Linked DNA regions of Homo sapiens: region 1 is linked to region 2. The links are contacts of gene promoters, found by promoter capture Hi-C in blood cells and fetal thymus (Javierre and others, 2016). All regions are on one chromosome and are shown on one strand. The core of a region is centred on a gene start or on the middle of the fragment in contact, and the rest is flanking DNA. Distances in the headings are between cores, read along the strand shown.

What was found. Contacts are between HindIII fragments. The CHiCAGO score rates a contact against its expected background, and 5 or more counts as called.
Region 1: the fragment with the promoter of COLGALT1 here is called in contact with a fragment that was not itself captured in region 2 in 5 of 17 cell types (M0 macrophages, M2 macrophages, endothelial precursors and 2 more); the score reaches 8.9 in M0 macrophages.

The regions. Positions count from the first base shown.
Region 1 is chr19:17,554,376-17,557,075 of GRCh38, forward strand. COLGALT1 (collagen beta(1-O)galactosyltransferase 1) reads left to right here and starts at 1,274. Exons shown (of 12, transcript NM_024656.4): 1 at 1,274-1,598. The coding sequence starts at 1,339. It also overlaps a transcript of NIBAN3 not described here. RefSeq lists a silencer at 1,352-1,441. The HindIII fragment of the contact is 3,085 bases long and covers 1-2,065 here.
Region 2 is chr19:17,851,234-17,853,958 of GRCh38, forward strand. No RefSeq gene overlaps it. Among named protein-coding and RNA genes, the nearest start is that of JAK3, 4.6 kb to the left of the region's middle. The HindIII fragment of the contact is 3,709 bases long and covers 1-2,725 here.

The DNA of each region.
Region 1 (2,700 bases), core at 24-2,523, 300 kb before region 2:
AGGCTGAGGCAGGAGGATCAGTTGAGCCCAGGAGGTTGAGGCTGCAGTGAGCCATGATCATGTGATCATGCCACTGCACTCTAGCCTGAGCCACAGAGTAAGACCCTCTCTGTGAAAATAATAATAAGCTGGGCGCGGTGGCTCACGCCTGTAATCCCAGCACTTTGGGAGGCTGAGGTGGGCGGATCAGGAGGTCAGGAGTTCGAGACCAGCCTGGCCAATATGGTGAAACCCCATCTCTACTATAAACAAAAATTAGCCGGGCGTGGTGGCGCGTGCCTGTAGTCCCAGCTACTCAGGAGGCTGAAGCAGGAGAATCGCTTGAACCCGGGAGGCGGAGGTTGCAGTGAGCCGAGATCGCGCCACTGTACTCTAGCCGGGGCAATGGAGTGAGACGCTGTCTCAAAAAAAAAAAAAAAGAAAATAATAATAATAATAATAATAATGTTCAGATGTATTTTTTAAAGTTTTTATTGTTTTTAAAAATAGAGGCACGGTCTTGCTATGTTGCACCACTGCACTCCAGCCCGGGCAACAAAGCCAGACTCCGTCTCAAAAAAAAAAAAAAAAAAGTGTGATACTAAGTCAATCAATTTGAAAATGCGGCTCTAGAGTATTGGAAAACAATCCCTTGACAGCGTTTCCATGAAAACATGGCCCTTGTCTCTGGAAGAGCTTGTGCCCAGAACGGTCCATTATCATGCCCTGGCTCTATTTTCACGCCAACCCTATAGGGTCTCTATGATCTCATTTTATAGATGGACAGACTGAGGCTCACATATAGCAAGCCCAAGGCGGGGACTGAATGTGACGCCAGGTCTGTGGACGTCATGACCTTTATTCTCCACAACCCTCAATGACATCCCTGTGAGATCCAAAACCAGGATGGCAAAACCCACGTTGCAGCAGAGGAAACTGAGGCTAAGGTCTCTTGGGTCCCAAACCAGGTCCTAAGTAGCCAAGTCCGCCTGGTGGCACAGCCCGGGTTTTATACATGGGGAAATTGGGCGGCGCATCTGGCGGAGGTCTCAGTGGTAGGAGGCGCCTGGAGGAAGCGCGGGTTCCTAACCCTAACGCTACCCCTAACATCCCTTCCACGCGCTCCGAGCGCTATGTGCCTTTAAGATCGGTGCGGGGGCGGGGCGTCCTGGGTAGGGCTGCAGGTGACGTCACTCCGGGCCTTGGGACTCGGAGAGCGTCTGGAGGCGGGGCCTGGACTTCACGCCCGGCGCGCTCCTCCCCTTTAAGGCGCGCGGCCGGGCGGGGCCCCTATGACCCCTTTAAGGCGCGGCCAGAGTCCTCCCGCAGAAAAACGACTTAAAGGAGACGCGTGGCGCGATGGCGGCGGCCCCACGCGCGGGCCGGCGGCGCGGGCAGCCGCTCCTGGCGCTGCTGCTTCTGCTGCTGGCGCCACTGCCGCCGGGGGCCCCGCCGGGCGCCGACGCCTACTTCCCCGAGGAGCGCTGGAGCCCGGAGTCGCCCCTGCAGGCGCCGCGCGTGCTCATCGCGCTGTTGGCGCGAAACGCGGCCCACGCGTTGCCCACCACGCTGGGCGCACTCGAGCGGCTGCGGCACCCGCGGGAGCGCACGGCGCTATGGTGAGTCGAGCCCGCTGTCCCCATCAGGCGGGTCACGCGAGCCCCTGCTTGCTGTCCCCATAGGGGTGGGTCCACGCGAGCCCCTGCCCGCTGTCCTCTTCTGGGCGGGTCCGCGCGTGCTTCCTGCTCGCTACCCCCATCGGGACGGTTCTACGCATGCCCCTGCCCGCTGCCCCCATCGGGACGGGTCCACGCGTGCCCCCTGCCTGCTGTCCTCCCATGGGGCCAGACACAGCCCTCCCCACAACACAAGCGGGACCGAGTTCCTCCTGCTGGCTCCTTTGGGGTGGGCTGGGCACCGCTTCTGCCTGCTGGACCCTACTAGGGCAGCTCCGGCCTCACTAACTGGGGCTCTAACTCCCTCTGGGGCACGTACACCTCCAAAGGACGGAGCCCAGAGCCCCCACTGGGGCGTTGCCAGAGGCCACATCTAACAGCAAGCCTTTCTGTGCCGGCTGCTGCCCTTAAGCTTGAACTCAGCCTGGCTCCAGGCCCCAGTCAAACCCCTGCCCTCAGACCGGCGTGGGTGGAGTCCAGGACCAGATGGCCCAGGAGGAAGTGGATGCTTTCTTGGTAGGGAATGGGGCAGAGCTCTGAAGAAACCTTTGACTGGTGACTTCTCACTCCCTGCCTCAGTTTTCTCAAATGGAAAATGGGTCCGGGTGCAGTGGCTCACGCAGTAATCCTAGCAATTTGGGAGGCCAAGGTAAGCGGGTCACTTGAGCTCAGGAGTTCGACACCAGCCTTGCCAACATGGCAAAACCCCGTCTCTAGAAAAAAAATACAAAAATTAGCCAGGTGCGGTGGTGTGTGCCTGTAGTCCCAGCTATTCAGGAGGCTGACGCAGGAGAATCGCTTGAGCCCAGGAGTTCGAGGCTGCAGTGACCTATGATTGCACCACTGCACTCCAGCCTGGGCTACAGAGTAAGACCTGCCTCTAAAAAAAGAAAAAGAAAAGAAAATGAGCGTATTAATATAATTCTCTTTTTGGGTTTGTCTCTGAAGATTATCCAGTTAATGGATGTGGAGCCCTTGGGTCTGGCATGGGCTTGGCTCTCAGTGATTTTATTATCATGATTACTGTCATTGCTGGTGTTATTGT
Region 2 (2,725 bases), core at 26-2,525:
GTTCTGGGGACAGAACCCAGAACTTGCCCGAGAAAAATGGGGCACGTCAGTGATGCAAACACCCAGATTTTTCTGCTGACAAGAAGTCCATAAATACAATCAAAGAATAAAATACAATCAAAGTGTAACTGGAAACAAAATTGAACTCATGGATAAAATATCCTCGTTATATAAGTAACATCTAGAAAGCAGTAAGAAAATGCCAACCAGTTAGGTGGATATGAATCCAGAAGTCAGAGAAAATGGAGGACAAATAGCTCTTAAACCCAGAAAAATTTCCTCAGCTTCACTTGCCAAATGAAAATTAAGAGTACAGTGAGGCAGGGCCAGGCACGGTGGCTCATGCCTGTAATCTGAGCACTTTGGGAAGTCAACATGGGAGGATCATTTGAGCTCAGGAGTTGGAGATTAGCCTGGGCAACATGGTGAGATCCGTCTCTACAAAACATACAAAAATTAGCCAGGCATGGTGGTGTGCACCTGTAGTCTCAGCTACTTGGAAGACTGAAGTGGGAGGATGGCTTGAGTCCAGGAGGCAGAGGTTGCAGGGAGCCAAGATAGTGCCACTGTACTCCAGCCTGGGCGACAGAGCGAGACTACATCTCAAAAACAAAAACAAAAATGGTAAAAGACTGAATAACTTCCTCCTGAGATTGGAAACAAGACAAGGATGTCCATTTTCACCACCTCTATTCAACATTGTTCTGGTGATGTTAGCCACTGTAATAAGAAAAGAAAAAGCAGGCTGAGGCAGGAGAATGGTGTGAACCAGGGAGGCGGAGCTTGCAGTGAGCCAAGATCGGGCCACTGCACTCCAGCCTGGGTGACAGAGTGAGACTCCGTCTAAAAAAAAAAAAAAAGAAAGAAAGAAAAGAAAAGCTGGGCATGGTGGCTCACGCCTGTAATCCCAGCACTTTGGGAGGCTGAGGTGGGAGAATCACAAGGTCAGGAGTTCAAGACCAGCCTGATCAACATGGTGAAACCCCATCTCTACTAAAAATACAAAAATTAGCCAGGCATGGTAAAAATACAAAAATTAGCCGTGCGTGGTGATGCGCGCCTGTAATCCCAGCTACTCAGGAGGCTGAGGCAGGAGAATCGCTTGAACCCGGGAGGTGAAGGTTGCAGTGAGCCAAGATCGCGCCACTGCACTCCAGCCTAGGTGACAGAGGGAGACTCTGTCTCAAAAAAAAAAAAAAAATTAAAAATTGGCAGGGTGTGATAGCTCACACCTGTTGTCCCAGCTATTTGGGAGGCTGAGGATTGCTTGAGTCAGGGAGGACAAGGCTGCAGTAAGCCATCATCACACCATTACACTCCAGTCTGGGCAACAGAGCGAGATCCTGTCTTAAAACAAAAAAATATATGAGAAAAATAAACAAGTCAGGTGTGGCTGGGCATGGTGATACATGCTTGTAGCCTCAGCTACTGGAGAAGCTGAAATGGGAGCCCAAGAATTTAAAGGCAACATAGCAAGATTCTGTAACAAGCAAAACAGAATAAAATAAGTAATAAAAAAAAGGTAAATAAAACTGTTGCTATTTGCTGATGATATGATTGTTTATGTCAAAAACCCAAGGGAATCTATAAGACAACTACTGAAATTAATACATAAATTCAGCAAGTTACCAGGTTTAAAAAGTCCGTTGAATTCAATACAAAAGTCAATTGAATTTTTATACACCAGCAGCAAACAATTGGAACATAAAAAAATTTTGAAAAATTTCCTTTGCAGCAGCACTGAAAAAGATAAAATACTGTGATGGTCTGAGAGTTTGCGTCTCCCCAAAATTAATACATTGAAATCCTAACCTCGAAGGCGGTGGTATTCAGAATCGGAACCTTTTAAGAGGTGATTAGATCATGAGGGTTGAGCTCTCATGAATGGGATTAATGCCCTTATAAAAGAGGCCCCTAGGCTGGGCATGGTAGCTCACGCCTGTAATCCCAGCACCCTGGGAGAATTGCAGGCTGGTCTCTGACAAACAACTTGTGTTTGAGACCAGCCTGGGCAATGTGGCGAAACACCACCTCTACCAAAAAAAACACAAAAATTAGCTGGGCATGGTGGTGCACACCTGTAGTCCCAGGTCAGGAGTTTGAGGCCAGCCTGATCAACGTGGAGAAACCCCATCTCCACTGACAAAACAAAATTAGCTGGATGTGGTGGTGCATGCCTGTAATTCCAGCTACTTGGGAGGCTGAGGTGGGAGAATCGCTTGAACCCAGGAGGTGGAGGCTGCGGTAAGCCGAGATCACACCATTGCACTCCAGCCTAGGCAACAAGAGCAAAACTCTGTCTCAAAAAAAAAAAAAAAAAAAAAAAAGGCCGGGTGCAGTGGCTCATGCCTGTAATCTTAGCACTTCGGGAGGCCAAGGTGGGTGGATCACCTCAGGTCAGGAGTTCAAGACCAGCCTGGCCAACATGGTAAAACCCCGTCTCTGCTAAAAATACAAAAATTAGCTGGGTGTGGTGGCGCACGCCTGTAATCTCAGCTACTCTGGAGGCTGAGGAAGGAGAATCGCTTGAACTCGGGAGGTGGAGGTTGCAGTGAGCTGAGATCGCGCCACTGCATTGCACTCAAGGTTGCGTGACAGGAAAGAGGCTACATCTCAAAAAAAAAAAAAAAAAAAAAAGAAGGCCAGGGACCTGGAGTCCGGAGTGCATACAAGTGGGTGGCTTTGCAGTGTTTTGAGGACCAACGGTCAGAAACCAAGATTTGGG